Regions from separate parts of the Homo sapiens genome. Here regions 1, 2, 3, 4, 5 and 7 are each linked to region 6. The links are contacts of gene promoters, found by promoter capture Hi-C in blood cells and fetal thymus (Javierre and others, 2016). All regions are on one chromosome and are shown on one strand. The core of a region is centred on a gene start or on the middle of the fragment in contact, and the rest is flanking DNA. Distances in the headings are between cores, read along the strand shown.

Region 1 (2,700 bases), core at 138-2,637, 690 kb before region 6:
CTCTTTCTTTTAAATCTGTTTCTAAGTCACTAGTTGGTTAATTGTGGTAACATGCACAACACCTCCCCTGTCAACTGCAAGTAGGCAGTGTACAGACTCGTCATTTTTATTAAGAATAATTATCAGAGAACAAAACATCCCCACACATCAATGCCAGTTTTCACTTATAGGGATGTTATTGAAGAATTTTAGAATAATGCAGAGATTTCCTAAAAGTGATGGCAAAAATAACACTGGTAAAATGACATAGCGTGCTATAAGTATTGAGTGAGTGAAAATAAATTTTTTTCAAAGGTTTGTAAAATACGAAGGCTAGGATAATAACATGTAAGTAACAAACCCAGCCTTTGGGATCAGTTTTAATAGTCTTAAATTTGGAAGATTTGGTGGAGGGTTTGATAATTGGGCAAGGTTTCTTGGAGGGCTTGATGGTATGGTTCTGATTTTTTGTGTGCTGATATCTCTGATGAATACTATCATATGGGGTAATATTATTCCTTTTGAATTATTCGCCTGACTGACTTTTCAACTGGGTGTGATTCCTCTCTACTGTTAACATCTCAGCCTTTTCTATGTACTTTTGCATTCATCTTATAATGTTAGTATCTTCTTTCCCCTATTAATTTAAAACTCTATTGAGGGCAAGACTTAAAGCTTACTTATCTCTACAGCTCCTGCATAATTTAGCATAGAGATAGAAATTCAGAATTGACTCATATAGCCAAGTTCCCCTGAAATCAAAAATAAGGAGTAAAAAAATAAATTCATGAGAGAGTGATTTATAAATCAGAATACCAATTTATGATCAGAGTTTATGCTCATACTGCTTGTCAACTATTTCTGGTTCTTTCTACTTCTGGGCACATTTTCAGATTGTACCTCTCGGCCCCCATGTAGTTGGGCAGAGGATACACACAACAGGGTCTTGACATTAAGTTGTGAGTAGAAATGTGATATGTCACATCTGGGCTACAGCGAAGGTGACCAAGTGTCCTAGTTTCCTGAGACTGAGGGGTTTCCCAGGATGTGAGAATTACAGTGCTAAATCAGGACAGTCCCCAGCAAGCTAAGCCAATTGTCACATTAGCTGGAACATTTAATTGCTGGTTCAAGACCCTCCACAACTCACTCTGTTTCCTTCCGGCACAGAAACTGACAACATTTGAGGTAGTGAGTACCCTATCATCCTAGGTCCCTGGATCATTACAATGAGCATAGACTGCCTACTCATGAACCTATAATGGACATGTAAGCATTAGCAGTAATTAAAACTTTATTCCAGTATAGCATGTAGATTTTAGAATTTTTGTTATTGCAACAGAACCTAGTTGATCCTAACCGATACATGAATATAGGTAACAATTGATCTGATATGCAGTGGTGAATAAGTGCTTCTTTTTTTCTTCATCTTCTAATGGGAAAGTTTGCTTAGAAAATCAAAGAATATGGGAAGATCACTCAGTGAAATCATAAGCAGAACAAAAAGAGTTGGATAATATTAGCATGTTTTCATCAATCTGTGCTAGGTTTATCCTTCATTCTCTTCTCTACACAGCTATATATGTCAAGCAGACTGGGTCAGGGACTGTCTCCTATTAATGGTGTTGGAGAAGAATGGGCCAATCAGTACGTCCAGATTTTTCCCTTCAATACTCAACTTCATCATATTATTTTATTTTCACAATTAAAAATTACAATTCTAAGCTAATAATGTGCTTAGCAATGTTTCCATTTTACGTAAGTTTCCTAGTGACATCTAGGAAGGGCCTATTAGTCTCATCCATAAATTTTTCCTCATTCACATTTCTGGGGGGCGATTTCATTTATTAGTTCAACAAATAGTTGTTAATGCCTATTTCTGCCAGGTATAAACAAGGCAGGTAAGATCCCTGACCTATTGGAGTTCGTATTTCTCTGAGTTGGTTTAGGGTTAGCTATAGTAATTGAGACTCAGCAATAATTTGGTGGTTAAAGTTAGAACTGTGTTCCTCTCTCATATAATAGTCCAAAGAGACACTCCAGTTGGCAGGCAGCTCTGCTCCACACCAGCTATCAAGGACCCAGTTTCCTTCTACTGGGTTACTCCACCATCAACTATGGTCTTGTCATTGCTACATGGTTGAAGCTTGGGTGGTGAGTAGGTTTGCTGGTAGGAAAGACAAAATAATTCAGAAAAGGCATGGCCACTTTCTAACGCTCAAGCCTAGAAGTGACACATGTCATTTCCATTCACAGTCTGTTGGGTGAGAACTGAGTCACATGACACTCTGAACCATAAGGGAGTCTGGGAAATGCGGTTGGCTTCTGTGCCCAGACACCAGTATGAAATGGTAGGCAGTGAACAACCTCAATTACAACATTCTGATGGGAGACATAATAGCTTATTACCTGCTTCTCTGCATACAAACCTCTTCCTGTCACTGTGGGGTGAAGGATACTAAAGAAAAAAAAGGATTATCTCTTCCATAAGGAATCTGCATCTTATTAGAAGAAATACTCTCTGTGTGGATACAGACACAAAGCTACAAGTATGACAGAGAATGCTGTAAATGCCCAAAGCACAAAACACACAGAGTTCAAAGGGCAAAGGGTTATAACATGCTATGATGGCCCTGTGGGACAGTAACCCTCCTAGACCCTTTCCTGTGCAACATTAGCTCTGCTCTATTGCTGTTCATGCCTTTCATCATTCTCTGCGCA
Region 2 (2,700 bases), core at 153-2,652, 830 kb before region 6:
CTACCCCATCAAGAAAATTAAGCTTGAAATTCCTGGGCTTTCCCATTATATAATTATTCTCTTCCTCCCATATTTCAAAAACTTCTATCTATTGGCTCTATCTATACAAGGTTCAAATATCTCCCCAAAACTTTTTTTTTTAAAAAAAGGTACCTACCCCTCCAGGTACCACTCTGAACCCTCCCCTTCTACCTGGAGTTTCTCAGAGGAATGTTCTTGAGACTCGCTGCCTCCATACTGGCACGCCCACTCACTCCTCAGCCCACTGCCAATGCCCAATACCAATTAATTCGTTTCAGTGAAATTATCCTGAAAATGAACACTGACCATCATAATGCCAAATCCACTGAACACAATTCTGTGTTAATCACGCGGCCATTCCTGTGACATGTGATTGCTTTCACCTTTCACTCTTTTGACACATTTTTCCTCCCTAGGCATCCACAACATTGCTTTCACCTGATTCTCCTGAGGTTGCTCTTCTTGGCCTCTGTGACCGCCTCTGTCACAGACACACCTGAGGTGCTCTATCTTCTACCTACAGTAATGACTCCGAAATCTACACCTACGTCCAGTCCCTTCGTTTCAGACTCATATTCACAATGGCCTTCTGGATCCATCCACCTGGCTGCACTTCAGACACCTAAAACTCAATTGTGCTGAGTTGCTTCCAGGCACACACTGCATCTTATTCATAGTTGCAGGCAGGGTACACAGCACATAAGCACTGACGACACACTGTTGACTGAGACTAGAACTCATCATTTCCCACACCTCCACCCTAAAACCTGCTTCTCCTGTGCTTCTGATTCAGTTAATGACACCAGCATTCACCTAGTCATCTAAATCAGAGACTTTGCAGCGGATTCCCCAAGTTCAGTGATCCTCAGATGCCGACACAAACCCACTGTATGTGCAGCACCCATCTGGATTCCTCCACGTCACCCCGGTGGAACTTGGAGCCAAGGGGCCTGCTTGTGCTGTCTTCTGTGCTGTTCTCAAATTCCACCCCCATTTCTTTAATTCATGATTGGCTGCCATCAGTGCACTAGGTACATATATTCTTCCAATGAACTCACATGTGCATCTTATTATCAACAAGACTGGGAGCTCCTTTGATGGAAGATCAAGACTTATGCTTCCAGTTTATCCTGCACATCTTTGAAAATGGTGTCATCTCAGGATAGCAAGATCCTCTTAAAGATAATCATGTCCAACATTGTAGTAAAAGCACAGGTGGGTTTTGTAATTCTGGGAATGTTAATTAACCTCTCTGAGGTTCTGCTACATAGAAATGCTACAATTACTACTTTTTTTGTTTGTTTGTTTGTTTGTTTTGAGACAGTCTCGCTCTGTCGCCCAGGCTAGAGTGCAGTGGTGCGATTTCAGCTCACTGCAACCTCCGCCTTCCAGGTTGAAGCGATTATCCCACCTCAGCCTCCTGAGTAGCTGGGATTACAGGCACTCACCACCACACCCAGCTAGTTTCTGTATTTTTAGTAGAGACAGGGTTTCACCATGTTGGCCAGTCTGGTCTCAAACTCCTGGCCTCAAGTGATCCACCCACCTCGGCCTCCCAAAGTGCTGGGAGTACAGGGGTGAGCCACCACACCTGGCCTACAATTCCTTTTCAAAGTCTGGTTTGAAGAATAAAATAATGCATTAAAAAGCATTGAACTCCATTGCTCGCAAATAGAAAGTTGTCAAAAAGCAGCTATTTTCTTTTTCTTCAGTCAACACTGTTGAAATGAATGACTAATGGATACCATTTTCTAAAGATATCTTTATCTCCTCAGAGCGAAAGCCCCATACAGTTAAGTCATGGACTTGCATGGAGTGGACCAGTTAGTTTCACGCACTTCCCAGGTCACAGGGCACACTGCTCATCTTGGTCGAGTTTTTGTTTTTTTTTTTAAAGAACATGCTCTGCCAAACACAAGGGGAACTTGAGGAGCAAGCATAGAGATCAATACATCCATTTCCACTCAATCAGCACTTCAATCCATCTCCTTAATTAATAGTTTTGTCAGTGGTTTCTTCCATTTTCAGCACTTAAGAAGTGGAAAAGTCGGACAGTTATTGTTTTATGGAGGTGAGAGGGTAAAAGCTAATGCCAATTAAACAACATTGTATTTTATATTATAAATGTATATTTCTTGAAAAGAGGTCTGGCCAGCCAGAGCAACAAAGTGAGACCCTATCTCTACAAAAAATATTGAAATTAGACAGACATGGTTGTGCACACCTATGTACCAACTCCACAGCAGGCTGCAGCAGGAATATCGCTAGAGCCCAGGAGGTTGAGGTTGAGGATGCAGTGAGTGATGATCATGCCACTGCACTCCAGCCTGGGCAACAGAGGGAGACCCTGTCTCAAAAAAAATAAATAAATAAAAACAAAGAAACCAACCAACAAACAAAAAACAGGAGATTTGGGGAAAAGAATTTAAAAGTATACCTTCTTCTCAAAATGCCTCTGGCCCTATGTGCATATATCCAAATTTCAGTCACTGAGTTGACAGTAGAAACAAAACAATGTTGTAATACATGTGTGTCTCATTCACCATTAGCATGTCAAGCAGATGCTGACAAAACAAGTATCTTCTGTTTTAGCAAATACTGCCAGAAATTTCCATCCACGGTCCTCCTTGGCTCCACATCTGTCAGTGATCTCTCTGAGAATACTGAAGAATCACCAAT
Region 3 (2,700 bases), core at 167-2,666, 740 kb before region 6:
ATCTTCCCTCCTCCCTCCCAACCCAACATCCAATGTATAAGCCTTCCCAATGAGGAAGAGGGGGAATGGGGACCCTTGGATTCAGTGCCTCCAATGTCCACCTTCAACCCAGGCTTACAGGGGTTCCTTATCCTTCCCACCCGCCCTCAAACCCAGGAACCCCAGAGCAGGGCCAGCCTACCGATGTACTCTATGGCTTCCATGAACCAGGAGCTGATGTCGGCCTTGTGGTTATCTTCCACTGGGATGCACTTGTACTGATAGTGTCCTTCAAAGTGGTTTGGGCAGTCCGAGGAGACATTCAACAGAGCCGTGATGCCCAGGGCGTCCAGCATGTCTCTCCGGGCAGCATGGTAGGCACTGCCGAGGTAGAGGAAGGGAAGGATCTCCACAGGACCCCCCTGCACAGAAAGGGAAACAAAGGCCCCTGAATGACATGAGGGTAAAGTGCTTGGCACAGGGAGTGGAAGCTTGTCTGAGAAGAGCTTTCCTTTCCAAACCCAGGGAGAATGCCTGCTGGGCCTGGCCCTCCCAGCCTCCCCCTGTAGCCTCCTGGAACTCTTGGAGGGGTGATAGGCCCAGTGGGACTTCTCCAGCCTTTGCCCTCTACTTGTGAGCAGAGAGGCCAGGGCAGGTAAAGTCTTGTGGGACTCTCCTGCACCTCCCCCATGGCAAAATAAGCGGCAGGACAATGCCGGCCTTATGGCACCATCTGTGACACTGAGTTTATATCTGCTAATCATCAAGCCATTTGCTGTGTGGTTTAGATACTTATTTGTTTTGATATGTATTCACTGGGCATATCAAAAACAGGTGTGCAGTGGCTCACACCTGTAATCTCAGCACTTTAGGAGGCTGAGGTGGCAGGATCATGTGAGCCAGGAGTTCCAAGACCAGCATGGGCAACACAGTGAGACCTCATCTCTCAAACAATGAAGCTGGCATGATGGTGCACACCTGTAGTCTCAGTTGCTTGGGAGGCTGAAATGGGAGGATCATTTGAGCCCAGGACTTTGAAGCTGCAGTGAGCTATGATTGCGCCACAGGACTCAAGCCTGGGTAACAGAGTGAGACTCTGTCTCTAAAAATAAACAAATAAATAAGCTGATGCCCTCATGGCCACACAGACAAGAGAGAGGATCTTGGCAAAATGAGGCAACAGTGGCTTAAATTTAGCACATGAGATGTGGGCAGCAGAGTCCATCTAACTGAAAGGGCTGGAGGGTGGGCTTATAAGAAACACAGTGGCTCAAGCAGGTTTTCTTGGAGGGAGGGTGGGTGACCATCTATGTTCATTCGGCTGATACGTGGGAGCAGCCTGCCTGTCGGGGACTGAGATGTATTTCATGGCCTGCTACTTCAGAGGAGAATGACCTCAGCTTCCCAGAGAGCAGGTCCCCCAGGGCTTCTGGAGGCCTCCTCACTTGTCCGGACACGACGTTAGAGGCCAAGCCAGGGAGTCATGTCTTTAGACTTTTTTCTTAGGAGGATATTTAGAGAGGGAAGGGGAAGATTTCCAAGAAGTAAATAGGTCCTACCTAACATCCCACCCCAATACTCCGGGTTCACCGCATTCTCCCCAAATTGAGGCATAACATTCAAAGACTTAAAAAAATCTCAGGATTGGATGCAGTGGCTCACGCCTGTGATCCCAACACTTTGGGAGGCCAAAGCAGGAGGATCACTTGAGGCCAGGAGTTCAAGACCAGCCTGGGCAACATAGCAAGACCCCCCCCCCCCATCTCTACCAAAAACCTTTTAAAATTAGCCAGGCATGGTAGTGCCACCTGTAGTCCCAGCTACCAGGGAGGATCCCTTGAGCCCAGGAGTTCGAGGCTGCAGTAAGCTATGATCACACCACTGCACTCCTGGGTGACAGAGCAAGACTGTCTCAAAAGCAAAGACAAAAAACACCGTCAGAACTCTGAAAAGAAGGCATCCACTGGCCCCTACGCTGTTCCTGCCCCCCACTTCCAAGCCCTGCCCCCCGAGTCTACCTGGTCGTGTAGTGGGGTCCCACAGGAGCTGCAGCCCAGGTCCAAGGGCTCTGTGGCACTGGGGGGAACCGGGGGTGGGATGGCTGCCAGGGCCTTGGTTTTAGAACAGAATTCTGGGTACTCGGAGGAAAACCTCTCATAGCCGCCTGTAAAGGAGAAAGAAGCTCAGGTTAATGGGGTCACTAAGCCAGCAGGAAGTCAGAAAGAACTCGACTCCTACAGACTCAGGCGGACTGCTAGGAAGGCAGGGGCTGGCGTGCTCCATATTGGCCACTAGGTGGCGCTGTGGACCTAGAGAATGGCCATGGAGTGGTTTCCAGAGATGCAGAGGACACACTCGTCAGGACTGCAGCAAAGCTGGAAGGATAAGCTTTATGGACAAGACTTGGGTTAGAGAGGTAGACATACAAAGGAAGACGTGCAGGGGGATGTGCAGAAGTGACTGTGGAGTAGCTCCTCAGGACAATGACAAAATAGAGAAGCAAAGGTCACGCTGGGCTTCCAAGGACACTAAGTACCTGTAGAGACACCTGCCACCCCTGATTCCAGCCCTTCCTCAGGGGAGGTTCTCCAATGTGAGAAAGAAGGGAAAAAATGACCCTGGTACAAACTCTTCTGGATCTCAGCAATGGAACAGATGTCCATTGCACGTCCTCATGAATAGCTGTTCCGTCACCAAGAGACCAGAACAAGAGGAAAACGG
Region 4 (2,700 bases), core at 82-2,581, 880 kb before region 6:
AAACTCCAAAGTGTCTTTTCTGAGGGGAAAAATATATATTTAGTATGATATTTCAAGTTTAAATAAAATGTTTTTATACCAAAAACATCAACTCTTCCTAAGACAAACAACAAGTATGAAATTCAATAACATATGACACATAGCAGAAGAATCCATGGGACTAACCTGAATTCACATCATCATAATAAAAACAGAAACAAACCAGTAAATTAATTACAGAGCTAAGTTTGCAGCTAGGGATTCTGATGGCTATGACAGTAAAGCTCAAATAACCTGCAAAGGCATGGGACACCCAAAGATGTAATTACAACCCTGTACAAAAATAAATAAATTAATTAATTAAACAACACCTTGTCAAAGTGTAGCTGCAATTCAATACAGCCATGTCTCACTCATCCCAAGATCCCTTAATTAGAAACCTCAACTATCCAGATCACTGTGGAGATTCAGGAAGCAAAAGCAGCTGCTGACCAATCCAGAGAAATGTCTCAAGTACAAGCACTAAAGCTGTAATTTCTCAGCTGAGTTGAATTATTTTTGTTGTTGTTGTTGCTTAACTTTATTTTGAAATACTTTCAGGCTTACAAAAAGCTCCAAAAATAGTACAAAAAAATCCTGTACACCCTTCTCCAAGCTTCCTCAAATGTTAACCACCAAATATTTCTTATATCACCACAGCTACAATGACCAAAACCAAGAAATTAACCATCAACACAGTTTATTAAATAACCTATAGACAACCTCCTCCAAATTTTGCCAATTACCCCCACTAATGTCCTTTTTTTGGTCCAAGACCTTGTGTTACATATACTTGTCATGTCTCCTCCAACCTGGGGCACTTTGTCTGTCATGACCTTGACACTTGAAGAGGACTGGCCATTTATTTTGTAGAATGTCCCTCAATCTGGGTTTGCCTAATGCTTCCTCCTGACTAAATCCAGATTGTGCATTTTGGCAAGCCCACCACTGAAGTCACATTGCGCCCTCCTTGGTGCATTCTACCAAGAGTCATATGAGGTGCATGTGCCATTACTGATCATGTTAATTCTGATCACTTGGTCAAGGCTGGATCTATGAGGTTTCCCACAGTAAAATTACTATTTTTACCTTCGTAACAAATAAGAATCATGTGGGGGATAAACTTTTAAACTATGTAAACACTCTGTTTCTCATCGTCATACTTTCACCTGCAAATTTTAGCACCCACTTATAATTCTTGCCTGCAACAATTACTATCTCCCAAATAGTGACTGTTTAGTTACTGGAGACCTCCCCAGCCCAGGTGGATGACCATGGATGAATGTGCTTTTTTGGAAGCAGGCAGCTTGGGAAACAACAAACAATATGGCTGCATATCTGGGATAAAGACAGTTATCTATGAATAAACTAACCTCTTCCTCCTTTTTACTGATCTGGCTTGTGGGCTCATGCTCACTTCTCATTTGAATAACAAATCACATCATACAAAGAAATCAAATTATATCTGTAATCTCTAGAATGCCAAAATACGAAGAAGAAATTTTATAAACTCATCACCTCTGAAAATGTTGTAATACTTCTGTCCATGACACAAAAAAAATTGATATTGGGTCCAAAAGTAAACCACACAGTATCACATATGTGTAAAACACAAAATAATATCAGTAGAAAGGAAAGTTATAGATCATTTACTGTTGTCAACTACCAAAATCAAATACTGAATCCAAATCCCATCATCTCTTTTAATTCTAAAGGTCTGAGTTGCTGAAATCTTCACAACTGAAATATTTGGAATCTCTGGTTCAACAAGACCCCACCCCAACCCGCTGTATAACGGATGTATACATCACAAAGAGCTTATTCTAATACAGCCATACTACGTCATGATATTGTTGCTTTTTTGAACTTGGCTGGCACTACCAGCAACCAAACAACAATCTGTGTGATGAGTATGATTTTTTTCTTTGTCACTCCTCCCCCACTGTACTTTCCATACATGGAATGAAGCCGAGCTGACTTGAAATTTAGAAAGTGACTACACTCACAACAGAAGCTTCTCAACATTTGCTTACTCCAGTCAACTCTCTGTAAGAAGTACAAATATCACAAAAAGCCCTGTTCGTTGTGTCCTCAATATCTAGAATTTTCCATCCACTTTTGAAGGATAAATTCTAATAGCAACATTGATAAAGTAGAGTATGACTGGAGAATAATAGCATTCAGGAGGCGGGGGGATTTGAAAACTCTACCAGTGAAAGAAGGGGAAATCCCTGTAGCTGGAGCGGGTAAGATGAGAGGAAGACAGGCTGCCCAGCCTCAAAGCTGAGGGGACTCATACCTGGCAGGGAAGCTAACTTGTTTTAGGTCACTTCCAGGGCTGCATTCAGTAAGATATACTGGGGAAGGTTGCCGCAAGTGGGATATCTCTTTATTTTATTGTTGTTTTGAGACAGAGTCTTGCTCTGTTGCCCAGGCTAGAGTGCAGTGGCAAGATCTTGGCTCACTGTAATCTCTGCCTTCTGGGTTCAAGCGATTCTTCTGCCTCAGCCTCCCAAGTAGCTGGGACTACAGGCACCCACCACCATGCCCAGCTAATTTTTGTACTTTTAGTAGAGGCAGCGTTTCACCATGTTGGCCAGGCTGTCTCGAACTCCAGACCTCAGGTGATCTGCCTACCTCAGCCTCCCAAAGTGCTGGGATTATAGGAAGTGGGTTATTTCT
Region 5 (2,700 bases), core at 117-2,616, 860 kb before region 6:
CTCCTTTGGCCTTTTTCTTGCTCTGTCCTGAGCACTGACCAAAAATTAAAGGAGAACAACCCAGCCAATGCACTGGCGATGTTGGAAAGAACTGGGCAAGATGTGGAATAATAACGCTGCTGCCGATGCCAGGCAGACCCAAGACCAGAGGGCTGCTAAGCTGAAAGAAAACACAAAAAGTCTATTACTGCATATGAACTCAAGAAAAGCCTGATGGGGTGAAAAAGGCAGTCATCAAGGCTGCAAAAAAGCAAGAAAAGGAAGAGGAAGAAGAAGAGAAAGATGAAGACGAAAAGGAGGAGTAGAAAAGAAAATGAAGATGATGGGTCAGGCACGGTGCCTCATGCCTGTAATCCCAGTACTTTGGGAACTGAGACAGTTGAATCGCTTGAGCCCAGGAGTTCAAGACTAGCCTTGGCAACATGGTGAAACCCCATCTCTACAAAAAATACAAAAAAAGTTAGCCAAGCATGGTGCCTATAGTCCCAGCAACTCGGGAGGCTGCGGTGAGAAAATCACCTGAGTCGGGGAGGCAGAGGCTTCAGTGAGCCAAGATTGTGTCACTGCACTCCAGCCTGGGTGACACCCTGTTTCCAAAATAAATAAATAAATAAATAAATAAATAAATAAGGCAAGCCTCGGTGGCTCACGCCTGTAATCCCAACACTGTGGGAGGCCAAGGCAGGCAGATCGCTTGAACCCAGGAATTCAAGACCAGCCTGGGGAACATGGTGAAACCCCATCTCTACTAAAAATACAAAACATTAGCCGGGTGTGGTGGTGCATGCCTATGATCCCAGCTACCTGGGAGGCTGAGGTGGAAGGATCACATGAGCACAGGAAGTAGAGCTTGCAGTGAGCCGAGATCATGCCACTGCACTCCAGCCTGGGCAACAGAGTGATGACCCTCTCTCAAAAAATAAAAAATGAAATGAAAGTGATGATGATGAATAAGTTGGTTCTAATACATTTTTGTCTATAAAAATTTAACCCCCCTGTACACAACTCACTCCTTTAAAGAAAAAAACTGAAATGTAAGGCTACGTGAGACTTGTTTTTAAACTGTGCAGTATCTTCTTTTGTATAGTTAATGTACTACCCAATGTGTCTTCAGAGAGCCCTGTCCTGATGGTATTCCCAGTGGTCACTAGCCTTGCCTGGTACTCTACGGGGCTGTAAACTGGCATGGAAATTTAAAGCAGGTCTTGCCAGTGCTCAGGACAGCTAGTTACATATGGGGATGGTTGTTGCTTTTTCATCTTCAGTTGTCTCTGATGCAGCTTATATAAAATAACTGTTGTTCTGTTAACTGAACACTACTCAGTAACTGGCAAGGAGGGGAAGGCGACAGCTGGTTTGTTGACATTCTGAATGTTTCTAAGTAAATAAAATTTCTTTATTTAAAAAAAAAAGTCTATATTAGGACAGTCTCCATGAAACAGCCCATGGGTTTTGATAATAAGCCCACAGAGAAGGACGAGGAAGCCTAAGACACCCTTTGGTCTAGCACTGACAGAAAAAGATACATACAAACATACACACCAATGTCAACTTATGCATAAAGAAAGGTGGCTTGTAAAAGAGCGCAGGAAGGAGAAACACGGGGTCTCATAATGTTGGTAAGAAAAGAGTAGAGAGATAACGTTTAAGGTTGATTTAACAAGAAATATGAGTATCAATACGTTATGTAAAAACATCCCAGAAAATCTCAGTACTTTGGGAGGCCAAGACAAGTGGATCGCTTGAACCCAGGAGTTCAAGACCAGCCTGGGCAACACAGCAAAACCCCATCTCTATAAATAAATATATTTTTATATGTTAAAATTTAAATATGTACATACATTAACTGGGTGCGGTGGCATGCACCTGTAGTGTCACCTACTCAAGAGGCTGCTGTGGGAGGATCACCTGAGCCCAGGGAAGCTGAGGCTGCAGTGAGCTGTGTTCTTTTTTTTTTTTTTTTTTTTTTTGAGATGGAGTCTCACTCTGTCACCCAGGCTGGAGTGCAGTGGTATGATCTCAGCTCACTGCAACCTCCACCCCCCAGGTTCAAGCAATTCTCCTGCCTCAGCCTCCCAAGTAGCTGGGATTACAGGCATGTGCCACCACACCAAGCTAATTTTTGTGTTTTTAGTGGAGGCGGGGTTTTGCCATGTTGGGCAGGCTGGTCTCGAACTGCTGACCTCAAGTGATCTGCCCGCTTCGGCCTCCCAAAATGCTGGGATTACAGGCATGAGCCACCGCACCCGACCTGCAGTGAGCTGTGATCGTGCCACTGCACTCCAGCTTGGGCAACAGAGTGAGACCCTGTATTTAAAAAAAAAAAAAAAGGAAAGAAAAAGCAGCACAGAAAAGCACTGAAACTAATATAAAAATGAAATAGGAGAAGAGGTAAAAAGGATTGCACATATGAACTTAATCTTCTTCAAGGAGTCAATGAATATGTATCCAATATGATTTTAATATGAATCTTAATTATCCAAGGTACACATGTATCACCTAGAGTAATTGAAGTATTATTGCTCGTGTGCCCCAAAAGAATTTTGTGAAGCCTTGTAACTGCTCACACATTTTTAAGTCAATGTACAAGATTTTTCAAAATTAAGTTTGAATAGTTGCAAAGGATAATGCCCAAAATATTGTTTTTTAAACAAAATTCCTTTCAACATATCCATTGGTATCAAAATACCATAAAATTTG
Region 6 (2,700 bases), core at 185-2,684:
GCTTAAATTCGACAATGCAGGCATTTCCAATCACCAAATCACAAAGGCAATATGCTTTCCATGCCATCTTTACTTCGCAAAGCAAAAATGATGTTGTTTTCATTTTTTTTTTTTTTTACAGAATTCCAAAGTAACAGCATGCGTCATTTATTACATGGAAAAAGTCAAAATCTGTATCTAAGTATATAGACATATACGTATTAATTGCACGGAATATTACTGATCCCATGAAAATTCTTTAGACAATTTTAATACTGTACTGACATAAAAGAACCTCTTTCCTAAAACCCACTTATCATGTACCATCACTAAAAAAAACCGAGAAAATTATTTTTTAAATTCTTCTCTACGGTGAAAGCCAATGGGAAGAGCTGGTGCCGCGCGATGTACATCACTGCAATCGTCAGATAAGAGGCAGCGGTTCTCATAAAGACGCGGTGGCTCACGCCTGTAATCCCAGCACTTTGGGAGGATGAAGGCGGGTGGATCACGAGGTCAGGAGGTCGAGACCAGCCTGGCCAACATAGTAAAACCCCGTCTCTACTAAAAATACAAAAAAATAGCCAGGCATGGTGGTGGGCACCCGTAATCTCAGCTACCGGTGAGGCCGAGGCAGGAGAATCTCTTGAACCCAGGAGGCGGAGGTTGCAGTGAGCCGAGATCACGTCATTGCAGTGCGGCCGGGGCGACAATGTGAGACTCCGACTCAAAAAAAAAAAAAAGAGTGCAATCTGCGATTCTGCTAACAGACCTGCGAGGTCTGCAGCCCTGTCCGCTAAGGGTGACTCAGAGACTGCCAGTGGCAGGCAACGGCCGGCGATAGCAACAGGCAGCCATGACAACAGCAGGCCACGATGACATCACACAGCCATAACAACAAAGCAGATGCGCAGGTGAGTGTCCAGCTCTCCAGTTATACTCAGAGATGAGAAAGACGACAATGGGCAAATTCCGGGAGTCCGGGGCAGGGAGAAAGGGGACCTTAAGGATCTCCAGCCGTCCCGCCCCGCCCACTCGAGCAGTCCCTACCCGCCTCCCAAGACGCCTGGGAAGAGCAGTGGAACCAGGGAGAGCACGAACAGCAAAGAGGTCAGACATGGGGAATCCGGGCACCCAGGCTCCGGGAAGACGGCGCACGGAAACGCAGGGGAGCCTGCACCGGCTGACGGCGGCGGAAAAGGGCGAACGAAGCGCCTGAGGGCCCTGGCAGCACTCACCAGGGTCGTTCCAGCCCAGGGCAGGGCCCGCGGTCAGCAGAAACAAATGCAAGCCGAGGAGCAAGCAGTACCCGGCCGCTCCCGGCCCGCAGGCTGCGGCCATGGCGCTCGATGAAGATGGCGCCGGGCTGCCAGACGCCTACGGGCCGAACCTGGGTGCGGTAGCGCGCGCGACGCTGCGCAGCTACACCGCTACCCCTGGCGGCGGCGAAGGAACGGCCCGACTGCAGAGCTGCAGCCGCAACGGATCCGTGCGCCAACCCTACGTCACTGCCGCTGCGGCCCGTGGGGCTCAGTGAGTGGCCGCCGTGGGCCCCCGCCCCTGGAGCACAGCGCGGCTTGGGGCGGGGCGAGGCGGTGTGGGCGGGGCCAAGGGCCTGGGGAGGCACGGCTGGAGGCGGGTTGGAGGCGTGGCGCCGCGGTGTGGGCGGGGCCGAGGGCCTGTCGCCGCCGCGCCCGCGGGCGGGGCGAGGGCAGCGCGCAGCTTTGTTGTGTCTCGTCTGAGATTCGGGAAGCTTCTGTGCGTAGGCGATGCAGTTTGAGAGGCTGAAAACGTCACGACGCGAAATCTAAGAAATGTAGTCAAATTATGTATTATTAAAACCTCAATAATTGTACCAAGGGTAGTTCTGTGCTTTATTCAGCTCTATGTGTTCAGCACTTAGCATAGCGCTTGGTACATGGTTAGTGTTCTATGACTGGTTGCTAAATACAGAGAAGATTCAAGCGAAAAGTAACAGGGAAATACATTGTCTGGTTTCAAGGCTCAGAACCTTTACATGGTTCCTTGCGCATGGAGGCCGGAAGACTATAAAATGTCAAGAGGAGAAAATATCGTCTGAATGAAGAACCAGCCAGAGAAAACAGTTCTCTGGGCTTTTGAGGTCTAGCAGGCTTGGGTTTCTTTCATTCATTCATTCATTCATTCATTCATTCATTCATTCAATGAATATATGTTGAATACCTAATACGCACCAGGCACTGTTTTAGGCATGGATGGTACAGACAAGATCCCTGTACTCATTGAAATAGAATAGGACAAACGACATACCAATTAAACAACAAAAATAATAGGTAATGATAGGTAATAACATTGATGAAAAACAGGGTGATATAATGGAGCCTGGGGACACAACTTCAGGGAGGGCCTTGCTGAGGAAGTGGTTTTTGAAGCTTGGGACCTGAATGATGAGAAAGAACTAGCCGTACAAAGATCAGGGGACTCATCTTCCCATCTGGGGAACAGTGGATGCAAAAGCCCTAACTTTGTGTTTCGAGGAAGAGTTATTTGGTCAGATCCTATAAAGAGTTCAGTCCCACAAGATGGCCCCAACTTCAGACATCAATCACAAGTCTCAGGTTGTGACCTATGCTTCTGACCAACCAGCTATAAATTAGGGTTTCCAGGCCGGGCGTGGTGGCTCATGCCTGTAATCCCAGCATTTTGGAAGGCCAAGGCAGGTGAATCGCCTGAGGTCAGGAC
Region 7 (2,700 bases), core at 193-2,692, 850 kb before region 6:
GGTCCTTCCCTAGGGTAATGTCAGAAGAATGAAAAGGAATGCTAGAATGAAAATATTTACAAGGAAAATAAACAAGGTTTGGTGTTTGACTAAATAAGGATAACCTAGTTCCTGTAATAAATTCACTTATTAATTCATCCACAGGACAGAACAAATGATCCGGCTTCTTCAACAACTGAGGAGCCAATAAATTAAAAACCATACCACCCAACCTCAAAGTGCAGACCACATCTCAATCCTATTCAAAACAAACTTCGGGGAAAAAAAGACTTGATGAGATAATTGGGCATTTAAACACTGAAAATTTGATGCCACCACCTCACTATATTTTTTTCCTCCTCCTCACACCTATTTTAAATTGTTTAGATATGATAAATGGTATTGAGGTTATGTTTACAAATAATAAAAGATACATTAAAACATCTGTGGGTAAAATCAGATCTCCTTCAAAATAATATGGGGAAGAAGACAGGGATGAAGATGTAGCTAGGACAGTATCAGCCACAAATTAATGGTTTTCAGGGGTGAGTGACAAGAGCATGGAGGTTCATTATACTATTATACTATTCTGCCTAAATTGGCATATCTTTTAAATTCTCCATAACAAAAGTTTTTAAAAATTAAATTGCAAATAAAACTTTTACATATTCGATGATCTTTACATAAATTCTATTTCAATTTTCCTAAAAGTGGAACAAAAGGATTACTGACTTGTATATACAGGTCAAAACATAAAGATAGTCACTACTCTTAATAATTATGACCCATCCTATATAAGTTTTTACTTAATTAAAAGTATATATAAATTACGTTTGATAGAAGTAAAGCAAAGGTGAAATTTACCATCTATAAAATACCTGTGCTTTTTAAAAGAACTCTGTGGAAGAAGTTTGAGGACTCCAGAGTTCTAAACGCTTTTCTTTGTAAAAGAAAACTTTCTCACAAGAAAATGTACAATTCTCAAAATTAAACAATCAAATCATTTCAAATTTGAGTGTGCAAAATCTAACAAGATGCACAACAGAATAACTTTTTCTGCTTTCCAGTTTTTTGTTTTGCTTTTTTTTACTAGTATGCTTATAGATACATCATGTAAAAAAATTAATAACACCATAAATTTAATGGAACTAAGGATTGGTAAAGATTAACCTAACTCTCAGCTTGATACTTGGCACACTGTTGATGTTCGAATATTGAATGCATCAGAAAAAATTATAAACATGTTATGATACAACAACTTTTGTGGCTGAATGGGTTTCTCATGTCACATTTCCTCAAGGAATACTGCTCCCTCCATCTTTAAAACAGAAATCTAGATTCTTATACAGCATCTGATTTATATTAGTAACAATTTCTATCCTACAGATTGAGACAAAGAGCGCTAAAAAAGTACTGTCAAAAAAACTAAGCAAAATAAGCCAAAAAAAAAATGCAATAGTAGGACCTGGTAGTTGCCTAAACTGTGTTCATAATTAGATATTTTATTTAATATATTATATGCAATCTGACCACTTTATGCTGAGTCCAGAATTCTAGGGAAATTCAAAACACGTAATTCCTATTATCCATAACTAACTTAATCTAGAGCTGGCAACTAACCATATACACAAACCCTGAGTCCACATATCAAATGTTAGTATCCAGGTAGTAATTCAAGCACAGAGCTAAAGAAAGACTCTTTTCTTGTATTTTTTAAAAAGTTTATTCCTTCTTATTGCTGCACCAAAAGTAGTAAAAGCATGAGCAAAATAATATTTATATTCAATGATAATGCTAAAATATCAAATTCTATAGTAGCAGTCTATTGGCTACCAGTTTATTTTGGCAACCAGCTAGACTCTGCTGGTAAAACTTTGCAAAATTTGTATTTGCTGCAATTTGACTACCTGCTTCCATTAATTATGCAATGATATGCATTCAACCACACATATTTTCTTATCTTTTTAGCTTTTAAGAGTCTCCCTGATTCATCTTCACAAGTATATTCAAAAGTAGTAAATGATCACAGTATTCTTTTTAAAGGGAGAGGCTGAGGAATCATATACAACTTCTGAGTACACAGAACCACGCTCTCCCCACTGTACTCTAATAAAATTAGCAGGACGGGCTCCCTGAGGAAGAGCCCCATTATGAAATTAAAACATACCACGTACTGTTCTCCAGAGGAGCAGACTCTATTTGAGGAGAAATATTAGCCCCACTCAAGTCATTTCACAGCAGAGAGAACAAACAGGTCTATTGTGGGTACCATAATTACATTTTGCATGACTTCCTTCAATTAAAATCGCTATTTAAATTAGCATCCATATAGCAGTAGAGAAATCTAAAAAGTCATTATCTAATATGACCTAATGATGCCTTCCACTAACAAGGAATTAGTCTGAAAATGACTTCATGTATGCCATAAGGCCCTCCCCTCAGTAGCATTATGCAATATAATTTGCAAGAGAAGTGTATGGACATGGGTCAAACTCACTCAATTCTGCACATACTTTAAGGGCTCCAATCTGTACATCCACCAGGGTCAGAGTACACTGAAGCTCCAAAGAAGGGTTGGGTGTGTTTTGTTCATATTAGGTACTCATTAATTACCTAATGATACTGACTAAATTGATGTCTAGTAAAACTATCAGAAGGAACAAAAAGATTTTTAATGGCCTTACTAAAAAAGATGATGTGATCAACATCTCAGTCTTCCCA

The links. The method cuts DNA at HindIII sites, captures the fragments that hold promoters and counts their contacts. A CHiCAGO score of 5 or more calls a contact.
Region 1: a fragment that was not itself captured here is called in contact with the fragment with the promoter of SARAF in region 6 in 1 of 17 cell types (activated CD4 T cells); the score reaches 5.0 in activated CD4 T cells.
Region 2: a fragment that was not itself captured here is called in contact with the fragment with the promoter of SARAF in region 6 in 1 of 17 cell types (monocytes); the score reaches 6.1 in monocytes.
Region 3: a contact is called between a fragment that was not itself captured here and the fragment with the promoter of SARAF in region 6, in 17 of 17 cell types (fetal thymus, activated CD4 T cells, M0 macrophages and 14 more). The highest score is 26.2, in fetal thymus.
Region 4: a contact is called between a fragment that was not itself captured here and the fragment with the promoter of SARAF in region 6, in 2 of 17 cell types (M1 macrophages and monocytes). The highest score is 6.5, in M1 macrophages.
Region 5: a contact is called between a fragment that was not itself captured here and the fragment with the promoter of SARAF in region 6, in 1 of 17 cell types (monocytes). The highest score is 5.1, in monocytes.
Region 7: a fragment that was not itself captured here is called in contact with the fragment with the promoter of SARAF in region 6 in 1 of 17 cell types (monocytes); the score reaches 5.0 in monocytes.

The regions. Positions count from the first base shown.
Region 1 is chr8:29,395,598-29,398,297 of GRCh38, forward strand. No RefSeq gene overlaps it. Among named protein-coding and RNA genes, the nearest start is that of DUSP4, 46 kb to the left of the region's middle. The HindIII fragment of the contact is 1,471 bases long and covers 653-2,123 here.
Region 2 is chr8:29,255,437-29,258,136 of GRCh38, forward strand. The region is part of intron 1 of KIF13B (kinesin family member 13B); the gene reads right to left. Among named protein-coding and RNA genes, the nearest start is that of KIF13B, 6.3 kb to the right of the region's middle. The HindIII fragment of the contact is 2,764 bases long and covers 21-2,700 here.
Region 3 is chr8:29,338,101-29,340,800 of GRCh38, forward strand. It overlaps DUSP4 (dual specificity phosphatase 4), which reads right to left. Exons shown (of 4, transcript NM_001394.7): 2 at 1,998-2,143; 3 at 182-401. Among named protein-coding and RNA genes, the nearest start is that of DUSP4, 11 kb to the right of the region's middle. RefSeq lists an enhancer at 2,112-2,406. The HindIII fragment of the contact is 1,897 bases long and covers 469-2,365 here.
Region 4 is chr8:29,199,911-29,202,610 of GRCh38, forward strand. The region is part of intron 2 of KIF13B (kinesin family member 13B); the gene reads right to left. Among named protein-coding and RNA genes, the nearest start is that of KIF13B, 62 kb to the right of the region's middle. The HindIII fragment of the contact is 1,398 bases long and covers 633-2,030 here.
Region 5 is chr8:29,219,151-29,221,850 of GRCh38, forward strand. All of the region lies in intron 2 of KIF13B (kinesin family member 13B), which reads right to left. It also overlaps the pseudogene HMGB1P23. Among named protein-coding and RNA genes, the nearest start is that of KIF13B, 43 kb to the right of the region's middle. The HindIII fragment of the contact is 9,413 bases long and covers 1-2,700 here.
Region 6 is chr8:30,081,630-30,084,329 of GRCh38, forward strand. SARAF (store-operated calcium entry associated regulatory factor) reads right to left here and starts at 1,435. Exons shown (of 6, transcript NM_016127.6): 1 at 1,218-1,435. The coding sequence starts at 1,320. RefSeq lists an enhancer at 999-1,348 and a silencer at 1,389-1,758. The HindIII fragment of the contact is 3,638 bases long and covers 1-1,730 here.
Region 7 is chr8:29,235,864-29,238,563 of GRCh38, forward strand. All of the region lies in intron 2 of KIF13B (kinesin family member 13B), which reads right to left. Among named protein-coding and RNA genes, the nearest start is that of KIF13B, 26 kb to the right of the region's middle. The HindIII fragment of the contact is 8,290 bases long and covers 1-2,700 here.